Linked DNA regions of Homo sapiens: region 2 is linked to region 1. Evidence: promoter capture Hi-C in 16 types of primary human blood cells and fetal thymus (Javierre and others, 2016). All regions are on one chromosome and are shown on one strand. Each heading gives the region's core, a stretch centred on a gene start or on the middle of the fragment in contact. The rest is flanking DNA. Distances are from core to core; before and after follow the strand shown. Region 1 holds the start of IFNL2 (interferon lambda 2). Region 2 holds the start of LRFN1 (leucine rich repeat and fibronectin type III domain containing 1).

Region 1 (6,986 bases), core at 2,789-5,288:
CCCTGACGTCCCTCAGGAGCAGAGATGCGACCGAGTGTGTGGGCCGCGGTGGCCGCGGGACTGTGGGTCGTGTGCACGGTGGGCGCGGCGATCCGCCAGCGCTGCCTGCTCTCGCACTACCGCTCGCTGGAGCCCCGGACGCTGGCGGCGGTCAAGGCGCTGAGGAACCGCTAAGTGAGTGACCGCCCAGCCCTTGCGCCCCCCGGTACACTGGCCCCGCCGGGTTCCCACACACCCGTCGCTGACCCGAGGGGTCCTGCGTCCTAGCGCCCAGCAGGCGCCTCTTGTACGTCAGAGCCCACAGTTCCCACCACGAGATCCCCGCAGTCCCCGTCGTCAGCGCGAACGCAGGCTCAGGGTCAGTCACAAAAGGAGCCCTGCAGGGCGGACTCGGCTCCAGGTCGCGGGCGCAGGGCTATGCCGGGGGAGAGCGGGATGCAATTCAACCCTGGTTCACGCCTTCGGGGAGCTCCCTGGTTCAGTACACGACAGGCACGACCGTACGCTGCCAGTACCCATCCACGTCCAGGAATCCCAGACTGTGCAGAGGTTAGGGGCCCTGGCGAGGGGGCCCAGTCGTATGCGATAAGCGCCGCTTGTCCCGCAGGCGGAAGAGGCGCTGAGTTGGAGGTCGCGCAACTGCTCCGTCCGCCCCAGGAGGGATCCTCCGCGGCCATCGGTGAGGCCCAGAAGCGGACGGGAGAGGCATGGCCTGGGCGCTGCCCCCTCTAACGCCCTCTAGTCCCCGCAGTCCTGCGCTCGGCTCCGCCACGTGGCCAGGAGCATCGCGGACGCCCAGGCAGTGCTCAGCGGCCTGCACCGCCTGGAGCTGCTTCCCGGCGCCAGCCGGATCCTGGAGCCCCTGGCAGCCGCGGGGAGGGACGTGGCGGCCTGCGTGAGTGACGGCCGCGCCCCGCCGCCCCTCGCCCCCGCCAGCTTCTCTGCATCCTCAGGCCCATGGCGAGCCCCAGCGCTTTGCCAATCTGTCCTGCTTAGCGGAAAAACCGATCCAGACCCAGGTCGGGTCCTCTGGGTGTCCTCAAATCCGGGCTCGGGTCTGCGGCTGGGAGGGCCTCGGGCAGATGCAGAGAGGGGCTCCGTCCTTCGCCTTTTCCATTTGCCTCGCGTCCCACCTCCAGCTGGCACGGCCAGGCTCCTCCAGGAAGGTCCCCGGGGCCCAGAGGAGGCGTCACAAACCGCGGAGAGCTGTGAGTGCAGCAGGCAGTACAGGGTTAGCCTGCACGGAGGACCGAGTGAGGTTGACACGGACAGCACTGAGGCTGGGAGCGGCGGGATTGGAGAGGTCTTCTCGGGAGGGAAGAGCCTGGCTTAGCCCCGCTGCCCTCCCTCCCTGGCTCCAGGACTCCCCTCGGTGTCGCGAAGCCAGCGTGATCTTCAACCTCCTGCGCCTGCTCACGTGGGAGCTCCGGCTGGCTGCACACTCAGGGCCTTGCCTCTGACCCCGCCCCCTCCGGCAGCACGGAAACCTCCACGCCATTGGCTGCCGAAAGAGGTCCCTGTCGCCCATTGGGCCGGCCAGGCGAGGATCTCAGCCAGTGGGTGCTGAGGCACGAGAACTTCTTCGCAGCCTTGGGCCTGACTTGGATCCACTGTCTCAGATATAAGAGGAGCGGGTCCTTCTACAGGGAAGAGACCACAGTTCTCCAGGAAGCCACGATATTTCCTCGGGGTGCATTGTACGACCCTCCAACGGTTGCTATGGCAGGAAAAAACTTGAGCTCTGGAAACCGTGGCTGACCCCAGGCAACAGGGACCAGTTCCTCCTTGTGTGGTTACCAGGACACCCCCAACACCAGGTCCTAACCCCGGATTTGTAGCCCCACAGCCAGCTTTGAGATTCTGTGAATCCGTGACTCTTGGATCCGGCATCTAAGGGACACCAATCCATGAGGGATTTGGTAGTGAAAGGCCCAAGGGTCCTTAACCGACTGTGGTTCTTTGGATTCCCTTACGTGTGTTTGTATTTGTGAAGTTCCTGTGCATTTGCTATTCTGTCTCCCGGTTTAAATTTATTGCCAGTTATCAAAGAGTGTTTTGATCGCATTGGTTGTTTTCCGTATGATGATTGTGAGGTGCACCTTACAGCAAAAAAAGAGGCCGAGCCAGGGACTCAGGTGGCCTGAGGTTCAGTTCTGACCCTGCCAGTTAATTACAGTGGAATTCAGGGCAAATTACTTTTCTGAGCCTCTGTTTCCTCACCTATAGGATGGGTTAGCATACTTGCCTTGTGGAGGAGTAGTGTCCGTTGAGATCACGTTTTAAACTCTCCAACTGAGGTCCTAGTATGGTCTTAATGAGTGGATTCTATTAAATAATCACTCACATAAATACACAAACAATTGTGTTATTAATTTTTTCTCCAAATCTGTGCATTAGCAATCTGCGTTGCTGAATGCACCCCTCCTTGCCAAGGTCACACGGCTAGTGAGGGTCAGAACCAGGTTTGAACCCCAGACCCTTCATCTCCAAGACCCATGCTCTTCACCACTGCCTGAACTTCCCTAAGAAAGACGGCACCCACGTGGTGTCCTTCAAGTCCTTCGTCACACCTCAGTTCTTGAGCAGAGCCTCATATTCCTGAGTCCTTCCTTGCCTGGGCAATTAAGAAATATTGGCCTTGGCTGGGCTCAGAGGCTCATGCCTGTAATCCCAGCACTTTGGGAGGACGAGGAAGGTGGATCATGAGGTCAGGAGTTCAAGACTAGCCTGGCCAGCATGGTGAAACCCTGTCTCTACTAAAAATACAGAAATTAGCTGGGCATGGTGGCACATGCCTGTAATCCAAGCTACTCAAGAGGCTGAGGCAGGAGAATCACTTGAACCCAGGAGGCAGAGGTTGCAGTGAGCTGAGATGGTGCCTCTGCACTCCAGCCTGGGCAACAGAGCGAGACTCCATCTCTCTTGCTCACTCACTCTCTCTCATGCTCTCTCTCTCTCTCTCTCTCTCTCTCTCTCTCTATATATATATATATATATATATATACACACACATATATGCCTCTGGCCGGGCGCGGTGGCTCACGCCTATAATCCCAGAACTTTGGGAGGCCGAAGAAGGCAGATCACGAGGTCAGGAGTTCAAGACCAACCTGGCCAATATGGCAAAACCCCGTCTCTACTAAAAATACAAAAATTAGTTGGGCGTGGTGGTGCATGCCTATAGTCCTTTCTACTCGGGAGGCTGAAGCAGAAGAATCCCTTGAACCAAGGAGGTGGAGGTTGCAGTGAGTCGAGATCACGCTGCTGCACTCCAGCCTGGGCTACAGAGCAAGACTCCATCTCAAAAAAAAAAGAAAAAAGAAAGAAAGAAAGAAATCATGGCCTCTGGGCACAGTGGCTCATGCCTGCAACCCCAGCAATTTGGGAGGCCAAGACAGACAGATCACTTGACGTCAAGAGTTCGAGACCAGCCTGGCCAATTGGTGAACTGTCATCTCTACTAAAACCATAAAAATTAGCTGGGAATGGTGGCACAAATCTGTAATCTCAGCTACTTGGGAGGCTAAGGCAAGAGAATCGCTTGAACCCAGGAGGTGGAGGTTGCAGTTAGTCAAGATTTTGCACTGCACTCCAGCCTGGGTGACCGAACAAGACCCTGTCTCAAAATATATATATATATATATGCCAGGAGGGGTGGCTCAGGCCTGTAATCTCAGCACTTTAATAGGCTGGGTGAGGAGGATGGCTTGAGCCCAGGAGTTTGAGGCTGCAGTGAGCTGTGATCATGCCATTGCACTCCAGTGACAGAGTGAGACCCTGTCTTAAACAACAACAAAACCAGAGCAGGTGGAATCCTCCTGGGAACATACCTTCCTGTAGGTTACCCCTGAGTCTCCATCAGTTTCTCTTTCCCTCCAGCTGCTCATCTGGCTCACTAGCCCTGCCCTGCTCTGGGCTTTCCCAGCCTGGGGCTCCCCTGGTGGCCGGTGTCTTACCTGAGGCTGTGTTTTCACTTTTCCTACATCAGCTGGGACTGCCCTTCTGTCAGGGATAAAAGCTGCCCCATGGAGCTCAGGCAGGAATTACATCCCAGACAGAGCTCAAAACTGACAGAAAGAGTCAAAGCCAGGACACAGTCTGAGATCCAGAAGAGGGGACTGAAAAGAACAGAGACTCCAGACAAGACCCAAACAGACCCTGGGTGACAGCCTCAGAGTGTTTCTTCTGCTGACAAAGACCAGAGATCAGGAATGAAACTAGGTGAGTCCCACATCTCTGTCCGTGCTCAGCTCCTGCAGCCCCTGCCCTCAGTGGGCAGCCTCTCCATCCCCTCAGCTCCCTTTCTCTCTGTGACACAGACATGACTGGGGACTGCACGCCAGTGCTGGTGCTGATGGCCGCAGTGCTGACCGTGACTGGAGCAGTTCCTGTCGCCAGGCTCCACGGGGCTCTCCCGGATGCAAGGGGCTGCCACATAGCCCAGTTCAAGTCCCTGTCTCCACAGGAGCTGCAGGCCTTTAAGAGGGCCAAAGATGCCTTAGTGAGTCTCCCCCTGCCCTCCTGCCATGGACTAGCCTCCACCCCCACTCCAAGCGTCACCATGCTTTCCCACTCCCAGCTTCCTTCACTGGGCTAGCCTCCACCCTCCCTGCAGTGGGCTATCTCATGCTCCTACTGTAGGGACTGACTCATGTTTTCCTGTAGAAGAGGGTCCTCTACCATCCTCCCAGCAGTTAACCTCCCCTATCCTGTTGTCAGCCATCCTCCAATCCCACCAGGATGGTCTAACCTCCACCCCTCCTGCTGGGGCTAACCTGTGCCTTTGCTGTCTAGGAAGAGTCGCTTCTGCTGAAGGACTGCAGGTGCCACTCCCGCCTCTTCCCCAGGACCTGGGACCTGAGGCAGCTGCAGGTGAGAGGGGGAGTCAGGCCCACCCCTGCTCTCCCAGCCCCACTCACCTGGCTCTGTAGTGGCCCCTTCACCGTCTCTTTCTCCCTTGTCTCTCTCTCTTCTCCTCACACCTGCTCTCCCTTCCCTCCGCTCCCACCTGACCACACTGGCTGTGCCCTCTCCCCTGTGCCTGTCACCTTCACTTGTTCCTCTCTATCCTGCTCCCCAACCTGTTCCCCTCACCTCCCCCCTCACCTGCTCTTTCTCACCTCTCCTCAGGTGAGGGAGCGCCCCATGGCTTTGGAGGCTGAGCTGGCCCTGACGCTGAAGGTTCTGGAGGCCACCGCTGACACTGACCCAGCCCTGGTGGACGTCTTGGACCAGCCCCTTCACACCCTGCACCATATCCTCTCCCAGTTCCGGGCCTGTGTGAGTCGTTGGGGCCTGGGCACCCAGGTCTGTGAGCTCTGAGCAGCGTCCTTCCCCTTGCCAAGGCCCCGGCTCACACACCGCCCTCCTCTGCCCACAGATCCAGCCTCAGCCCACGGCAGGGCCCAGGACCCGGGGCCGCCTCCACCATTGGCTGTACCGGCTCCAGGAGGCCCCAAAAAAGGTGAGTGACCCGGGAAGAGAGGGACTGAGGTCTGGGGAGCCACTGGGAGCCCAGAACCCAGACAGCCCCTGACCCATCCCCTCCTCCCTACAGGAGTCCCCTGGCTGCCTCGAGGCCTCTGTCACCTTCAACCTCTTCCGCCTCCTCACGCGAGACCTGAATTGTGTTGCCAGTGGGGACCTGTGTGTCTGACCCTCCCACCAGTCATGCAACCTGAGATTTTATTTATAAATTAGCCACTTGTCTTAATTTATTGCCACCCAGTCGCTATTTATGTATTTGTGTGTGTAAATCCAACTCACCTCCAGGAAAATGTTTATTTTTCTACTTTTTATAACCCTTGTTGAAATAAACAAAGGAAAAGACACTCATGACGTTGGACTGTGTGTCTGTTGGTGTGTATTTCCTTTGTGTTGCTGCCATAACAACGCTAAAAGTAGCATCTTCCAAAGACACACTTGATGAGCTGGGAGTCTGCAGGTCAGAGGCTCGCTGGCCCTGGCTGGTTTCTCTCCTGTGGGACTCACAGGCTAGAATCCAAGCATTGCTGCTGGGCTCTTACTGGGAGCTCTGAAGAGAAACTCTTTCCAGGGTCAGTCACATTGTTGGCAGATCACTGTTCCTTGCTGCTGTAGGACTAAGGTTCCTGCCCCCTCCTGGCTATGGGTCCATCCTGAGCTGACTCTGCTGAAGGGTTCTCCACTCCTCTCACTAAGCTAACCTCTACCCTCCCTGCAGTGGGCTATCTCATGCTCCTACTATAGGGGCTGATTCATGTCCTCCTGCAGTGGAGGGTCCTGTAACATCCTCCCGGGAGTTAACCTCCACTATCCTGTTGTCAGCCATCCTCTAATCTCACTGGAGTGGTCTAACCTCCACCCCTTCTACTGGGGGCTAACCTGTGCCCTTGCTCTCTAGGAAGAGTCGCTCCTGGGGATGGATGGCAGGTGCCGCTCCCGCTTCTTCCCCAGGACCTGAGATCTGAGGCATAATACATAACGTATTCTATCCCTCATGACAGTGGAAGACAGAATAATTTCACTGCCCTGAAAATTCACTGTCCTTCCCCATTCATGCTTATCTGGCTGTCTGTGGTCCCTACTAATAGGCCCTTCCAACTCAGAGCCAGGAACAGTGCTTCAAACCTTTCTCATGCTTGGAACCTCTCTGACCTCTCCTGCCATGTTGCTCTTGTACTTCCAGCTAGAGAAAGTCTTCCACGTTTCAGGGCTCAGGTGGTTAGTTTGGCATCCAGGGTGATCTCCCCATTGTCAATCCACATGCCATAATCGCATCTGCAAAGCTCCTTTGCCGAGTAACATAAGATATGCACAGGGTCCAGGGATGCGGTGCTGGGTGACTTTGGGGTGGCATCTTCGGCCTCCTACAGTGTGTGTATGATTGTGCTTCTGATTGTGCGTCATTGTAGTTATGGGATTGTGTGTGTGCCTGGTCTACCTGAGAGTGTATGAGGGATCATTTAGAATGCATTGTGCTATAAGTAAAGTAACAGAAGCTAGAA
Region 2 (6,986 bases), core at 2,904-5,403, 52 kb after region 1:
ACACTCACACACTCACACACTCACGCTATGTCTCTGCTCCAGGCAAAACCTTCCGGCAGGGATTCCCCCTGCGGCGGCTGCAGCCCACGACATGTCAGTTCCCATCACAACACAGGGTGGGCGGGGGGTGAAGAGGAAAGGATGGGAAGGGGGCGTCCCTAAAACTGTTTTCACCCCACCCTGCCCTGTACCCTAGCCCCTGCTGGCCTACCTCCCAGGAATCTGTGTTTGGGGCTACGGCCTTAGGTGGCTTTGATCTTCCTGCCAGTGGGGAGGGGGCCTGGGACAGAGACCAGGAAAGTCAGAGACAGAGGTGAAGAGAGACAAGGAGAGACCAGGGGGAGGGAGAAGTGGACTGGCAAAGAGAGAGAGACAGATTGGGAGAGAAACAGAGAGACAAAAAGATGAGTCTGAAAGGAAGGTGAACAGACAGAAAACTGAGAGTGAAGAATGAGACACAGAAAAGAGAGAGACACAGAAAAAAGACACAGAGATGGAGAGAAAAATAGAGACAGTATTAGAGAGAAAAAGACAGAGGAGGAAAGAGACAGAGAGTAAGAGAGACAATGACCGGGCTGAAGGCGGAAAAAGAGGCCGGATCGGGGTGTCCTACCATCTCTGAGTTCACCCCAAATCTGTCCTTCACTCCCTCTAGATCACTACTCTACAATGTACTGGAAACCCTGGCCTAGAAAGGGGGACTCCAGAATTAGGAGCCTGAGTCTGCCCCTGCTTGGCTGTGGGGTCTTCAGGGCTCAGAATCCCAGTCTATGAAACAGAAGTCCAGAGCCTCGCCTCCGACAGCTGGGGTAGGACTCAAATGGAGGGAATAATAATAGCAATGGAAATAGCTAACATTTATGGAGAGTGGTGCAGCACTGCAGGACAGAATCCGCCCTACTGCCTGGGTTCAGACCTCACCTCCCCACTGTGTGACTTTAATCAAGTGACTTCCCCTTTCTGTGCCTCGGTGTGCTCATCTGTCAAATGGGAATAATAATGGCACCCACCTCATAAGGTTGCTATGAGGATTTAATGAGATAATATTTTATGACATGCTTAGAATAGTTCCTGACAAAGTAAACACTATATACATGTGAGCTGCTGCTATTATCATTATTATTATTACTATTATTATTACTAATTTATTATTTTCTCCAGCTTTCTCAGCCACCAGGAGGTCAGGCTATCGGGAGATCTTCCCACACCCATGCACACGCACATACAAAATGGGCAAACATATTCACTCAACCCTCTAAATGCAGGGGTCATTTCATATCTTGACATATTCTTGTATCCTTTACTGATATCATGAGGAAACCTTGCTTTCCCAAACACCTTAACCATCCTGAGAATGAATGTCTCTTGGCCTGAAACCCCCCACCTGCTCCCCAGAGCCACCTGGCCACCACAAGCCCTCACCCAACTTTGATGTTCCTGACCTTGTCACCACTCCCCAGCCTTGGACAGAGTGGTGGGCAACTGGTCCTTCAGGAAACTGTCATCCCCTGAACTGAAATCCATGCGAGGCAGGGTTCCAGACCCCCAGCTGGCTGACAGCAAGCCCCATCACCCCCCATGTCTCTCTCTCTCTGAAGCCTTACGGCTCTACTCACCTCTCTTCAGGGAGTCAGGGCCTGGGCCAGCACCTGCAAAGGAACAGAACCACCTTGTTAGCATCGTTCTGGCTCTTCTCTGTGCACCAGATCTTGCCTTGGAGACCATCCCGGCCAAGGAAGTCCCTGGTGTGATCACGCTCTCAGTCCTCCTGTGGCGGGTTTTGCATAGTCTCACAGGAACCCAGAAGTCCTCTCTGGAATCCTAGATTAGGCCTCAGGGTTGTTCACCCTCCAAAGCCCAGGAGTCGAGGACTTTAGCCCTTTGTCCTCTGGGGTTTCAGGAGCCAAGAACCCCAGCCCCCTCTTCCCTCTGACCCAAGAGTCCAGACCAGACCTCTGGCCCTCCATTAGAACCCAAGAGTTTACATCCCAGCCCCTCAACTCCAAAGTCCTGAACGGTACCAAGAGCTGGGGAAGGGCCAAAGTTTCCCATCCTTGCCATGATACTATTGCCCACACCAACATGTGTGTCCATGTCAGAACCCACGCAAGCCCACAACCCAAGTCTCTACATCTGGATTTCTATGAACATAGCAACATGATCTGTGTGCCCTCCGCCCTCTATGGGCACTTGGCCTGGCATATGGACACACTGTGTCCAGGGACCCCAGGCGGGACCCCAGTATACCAGAGGTCATGCCACATGGGCCTCAAACCCACTGAACCCAAGAGTAGGGACAGCCTTGTGCCAGGGCACAGACACATGTGTCTTTCACATACATGTCTGAACATACACAACCCCCAGAGACCAACACCAAAACACAAACAGACTCACAACATAGATGGATACATACCCTCAAGGTTGACACACCTGCATGCAACAATACATGTACAACACTGACTCTGCCATGCAAGTTCACACACACAAATGCACAGATACAACAGAGAAACTCATGTGCCCCCTAACAGACAACCAGGTACATGCATTTACAACAGATCTACCTTGCACACTCACCAGCACACAGGGGCACACACATCTAACAAACACACACACACCTGTGCAAACATACACAAGTGCACACTCTTAAATGCCTAGACACACTCATACTTCACACATCTCCATGTTGCAAAGTTGATACAGCACCACGCTAACAGATACATACCTCACACACACACACACACACACAAAACCACAAGCATACAGATACGAGGCTGATCCACACTGGAACACGCACACAGGCACAAAAAGATCCACCTTTGCAGACACGCCAAGATGTTCACTCATAACAGACACATGCTCACACAACAGTCCTGTGATTTACACACTTCCAAATGCATAGAAAATACTGAACCACAGTAGCACAGTCAGTAGACAGGCCCAGATTCACACTCACACAGTCTTGGACACACATTCCTCCCAGCCCTGAGGCACCCCCCCACCACCCCACCTACTTACTTCCCAGGCCCAAGAAATCCTAACATCCCTGCAGCACATTCAGCATCCTGCCCTCCACACCCCCAAAAAACCAGGGCAAAAGCCAGGCCAGAGGTCAGAGTTCAGCAGGTGGAAACTCAAGAGGATTTGGGGGTTTGAGTCCTAGATCACCGTTTCAAGGAGATCCTCCCACCAGCAGCCCCAAAGGTTCCCCAGCCTGGCCATCAGGATGGAGGTAACTCTGGCTCCGTCTGCAGATGTCTGGCCGGTGGGGGAATTAGGGTGGAGTGGGTGGGGAAGGGCCGGGTCTTCGCCCCCCAACCCCCACCTCAGGGCCCATCTGTCCATTTCTCGGCCTCTCATCCCCCCTCCATCTGTCCACCTCCTGGCCGCCCATCCCCCCCCCGCAACCACCGGGAAGGGGAAGACATGGCCGCTTCCCCCAGGACCGCTAAGGACCCCCCAGTTGACATGGACCGAGGGAGCGGCGAACTCCCCTCCCCCAAATCCACACCGAGGCCTGGGCGCCGAGCCTCAGCCCCCAAGCCAGCAACCTGCCGTGGACTCACAGATACACACCCTCGGAGACATACAACCCGCAGACACACACACACACACACACACACACACACACACACAAATGGACACCCGAGCGGGCACACCCGGCTCCACAGACCCGGGGATGGACATCCAACCCGGACACAAACACCCAGAGCAGCTAGTCGCGCACGCACATGGGCTTGGGGGGGACCCACACCTGGGCACACAACCCACGCACACACACACCTGCACACAGCCCCTCCGATGGGCGCGCGACAGCGCCCAGACACACAGCCGGAGGGGCGGCCGCTCGGGGGGACACGCGTGCACAGCCGGACACGCCGGCCGGGCTCGACACCCCGCGCACACCCGATGGCCACACGGGCAGGGCGCCGCACACGCCGGCACCGGGCACACATAGGGCCGCGCGGGCGCACGCCGGGCCCGCCGCAGCGCCACGGACACACACTCGCACGCTCGCACGCTCACACCCGCGCACACACCCGCGCCCCCGCCCGCCGCTCCCGGGCCGCTGCAGGCCGCGCTCACCCAGCCCGGGGGGGCCCCGGGCCCGGCCCCGCCGCCGCTGCCTCGCTCCGCGCCATGGTGGGGGGAGGGCCGGGGGAGGGGGCGCGGTGCCGCGGGGCCGCCTCCCTCCCGCCTCCCGCCCTCCCTCCCGAGCCGCAGCCGAGCTCCGCCCTCCGCGCCGCCCGCCGCCACCGCCGCCGCAAGGGGGGAGGGGGCGCCGACTGGTGGGGGCGGCCGGGCGGGGCGGTCGCACACCCGGGATCCCCGCCCCGAACCCGCCGCAGACCCCTCTCCACTGCCGAGCCGCCGCGGGCCCGCCCCCGACCCTTCCCCAGCCCCACCCCCAGCCCCGCCGGCCTCCCCGGAGACCCCCCCAGACCACGCCCCAACTGGCCTAGGGACCCCGGATCTCCCTACAGAGACCTCCCATCACGTCCTAATACCCAGGGGGACCTCGGATCAGGCCTCACCTCTTTTGAGAACCCAGGCGATGTTCTAGGGCCACCCAGGACCACAAATCATGCCCTGCTCTCCTGCTTGACCTCAGACTATGACCCACACACTGTCAGGAACCCCAGACCATGCCCCCAAACCCAGAAGAATCCCAGATCATATCCCAGCATCCAAGGGGATCCAGACCACCCCACCAGCAACCCTAAATCATATCCCAACATTCAGATAGACCCCCAGACCACACCCCTTCCCTCACGGACCCCAAATCATACCCTAACATCGGGGGAGACTTCAGACCATATGTCAGCCAAATCCCAGATGGTGCCTGACTCCCTTTGGGGACCCAAACCACATTCTACAGCCACCAGAACCACAAATCATATTCCACTCCTTCTTGGGGACCCCCAGCCATGTCCTTCTACCCTCAAGGACCCTAACCCATTCCCTTACCCCCAGTATGAACTCCAAACCATGCCTAACTTCTAGGGGGCCCTAAAATGTCTCTTATCCCTATGGAAGACCCTTAAACTTTCCCCATGAACCCCATTAGACCCCAAACCATCTTCCACCCCTTTGACCTTACACCTTTCTCTCTCCTTCTCCTCCAAGACATCCTTTGGTTTCCAAAACTCCCCAATTAGCCCCAATTTTTTCCCACCCCCTACTAGTCCTGCCCCCTTGAGGACCCTGCCTCCTTCTTGCTCCAGTTCTTTCTCTTGGACCCTGAAAGTCCCCCCTCCCTGTGACTTCCATAGAGCCCAGAATGCCTTGCTCCTTCCTAGTTCAGACCCCTTTGCCCATCCCCTGTCCCATAGCTGAACCCCACCCCTTCCCTCAAACCCCACTGAGTATCTCAGGCCACTCTCCTTCTCTTTCTGAGATATTCACAGGGTCCCTAAACCCAGCAACTTCTCCCCTAAAAATCTGTGTTGTTTCATGCAGTGCCCCAGATTCCTGGGGTCTCAAACCCTTCTCGTTTTGGATCCCACTGTACAGAGGTCCTCCTCTAAACCCCTTTCCTAATTTTTTTTTTTTTTTAGACAAAGTCTCACTCTGTCACCCAGGCTGGAGTAGAGTGGCACGATCTCGGCTCACTGCAACCTCCACCTCCCAGGTTCAAGCAATTCTCCTGCCTCAGCCTCCCTAGTAGCTGGGATTACAGGTGTGCGCCACCACGCCCGGCTAATTTTTCTTTTCTTTTTCTTTTTTCTTTTCTTTTTTTTTTTTTTTTTGAGACAGAGTCTTGCTCTGTTGCCCAGGCTGGAGTGCACTGGCATGGTCTCCGCTCACCGCAACCTCTGCTTCCCGGGTTCAAGCAATTCTCCTGCCTCAGCCTTCCGAGTAGCTGGGACTACAGGCATGTCCCACCATGCCTGGCTACTTTTTGTATTTTTAGTGGAGACAGGGTTTTGTCATGTTGGCCAGGCTGGTCTCGAACTCTTGGCCTCAAGTGATCCGCCCGCCTCAGCCTCCCAAAGTGCTGGGATTACAGGCATGAGCCACCGCACCCAGTCTAATTTTTCTTTCTTTCTTTTTTTTTATTTGTTTGTTTTTGAGTCAGAGTCTCACTCCATCACCCAGGCAGGAGTGCACTGGTGTGATCACAGCTCACTGCAGCCTGGACCTCCTGGGCTCAAGTGTTCCTCCCATCTCAGCCTCCTCAGTAGCTGTTTTGTTTTTGGTTTTGTTTTAGTTTTTTTATAAATGGAGTCTCACTATGTTGCCCAGGCTGGTCTTGAACTCCTGACCACGGTGGTCATGAGCTACTGTGCCTGGCCTAAATTATTTACATGAAGCCCGCCCTATCCCCCAGATCAAGCTCAGCTCTGCAGATAACTCCTTCTGGTGAACCTTAACCCCAAGCGCAACTCTGAGATGTCCCTGGGGACACTCACAATCCCCCTATTCTCCAGACTCCACCCTTCATCGCCACCACCCAGGCAGCATCCCCACCTCCCACCGTGGTTGCTAGTGCTCCCTGCTGGAGCTTGGGGGTAGGAATAACAACAACAACACAAGTGAACACATATACAGCACTATTTATGTGCCAGAAATGATTCTAAGGGTTTCACATCTATCACTTCATTCAATCTACACAACAGCCAAATGAAGAGGTCCTATTACCATCCCCATTTTATGGATAAGGGAAATAGAGGCACAGAGAGGTTTGGTCACTTGCCCAAGGTCACACAGATAGTATGTGGCAGAACAGGGTAGGGGTGATGGGGAAAGAGGGTGAGGGTAGGCCTGGGCTGGACAGGAGTAGAAAAGAGAGGGAGAGAAAAAAAGATAATAATAAGAGAGACAGATGGAAGAAGAAAGAAGCTGAAACCGAGGGAGATATGCCTTATTCATAGAGCCAATCTGGCCCTGTGAGCTCTGGTCCCAGCTGACCCTATTTCCAACGACTCTCCTCTTCTGTTCCAGCTTCTTCTTCTTCTTTTTTTTTTTTTTCTTTTTTTTTTTAGAAA

Evidence for each region. The method cuts DNA at HindIII sites, captures the fragments that hold promoters and counts their contacts. A CHiCAGO score of 5 or more calls a contact.
Region 2: the fragment with the promoter of LRFN1 here is called in contact with the fragment with the promoter of IFNL2 in region 1 in 1 of 17 cell types (erythroblasts); the score reaches 8.5 in erythroblasts.

Annotation. Positions count from the first base shown.
Region 1 is chr19:39,264,358-39,271,343 of GRCh38, forward strand. IFNL2 (interferon lambda 2) reads left to right here and starts at 4,039. Exons shown (of 6, transcript NM_172138.2): 1 at 4,039-4,221; 2 at 4,320-4,501; 3 at 4,795-4,872; 4 at 5,131-5,280; 5 at 5,381-5,464; 6 at 5,558-5,831. The coding sequence starts at 4,212. The coding sequence ends at 5,656. It also overlaps the pseudogene IFNL4P1. RefSeq lists enhancers at 21-599, 600-1,179, 1,180-1,757. The HindIII fragment of the contact is 23,103 bases long and covers 1-6,986 here.
Region 2 is chr19:39,316,710-39,323,695 of GRCh38, forward strand. It overlaps LRFN1 (leucine rich repeat and fibronectin type III domain containing 1), which reads right to left and starts at 4,154. Exons shown (of 5, transcript NM_020862.2): 1 at 4,084-4,154; 2 at 1,617-1,649. RefSeq lists a silencer at 3,743-4,002. The HindIII fragment of the contact is 24,527 bases long and covers 1-6,986 here.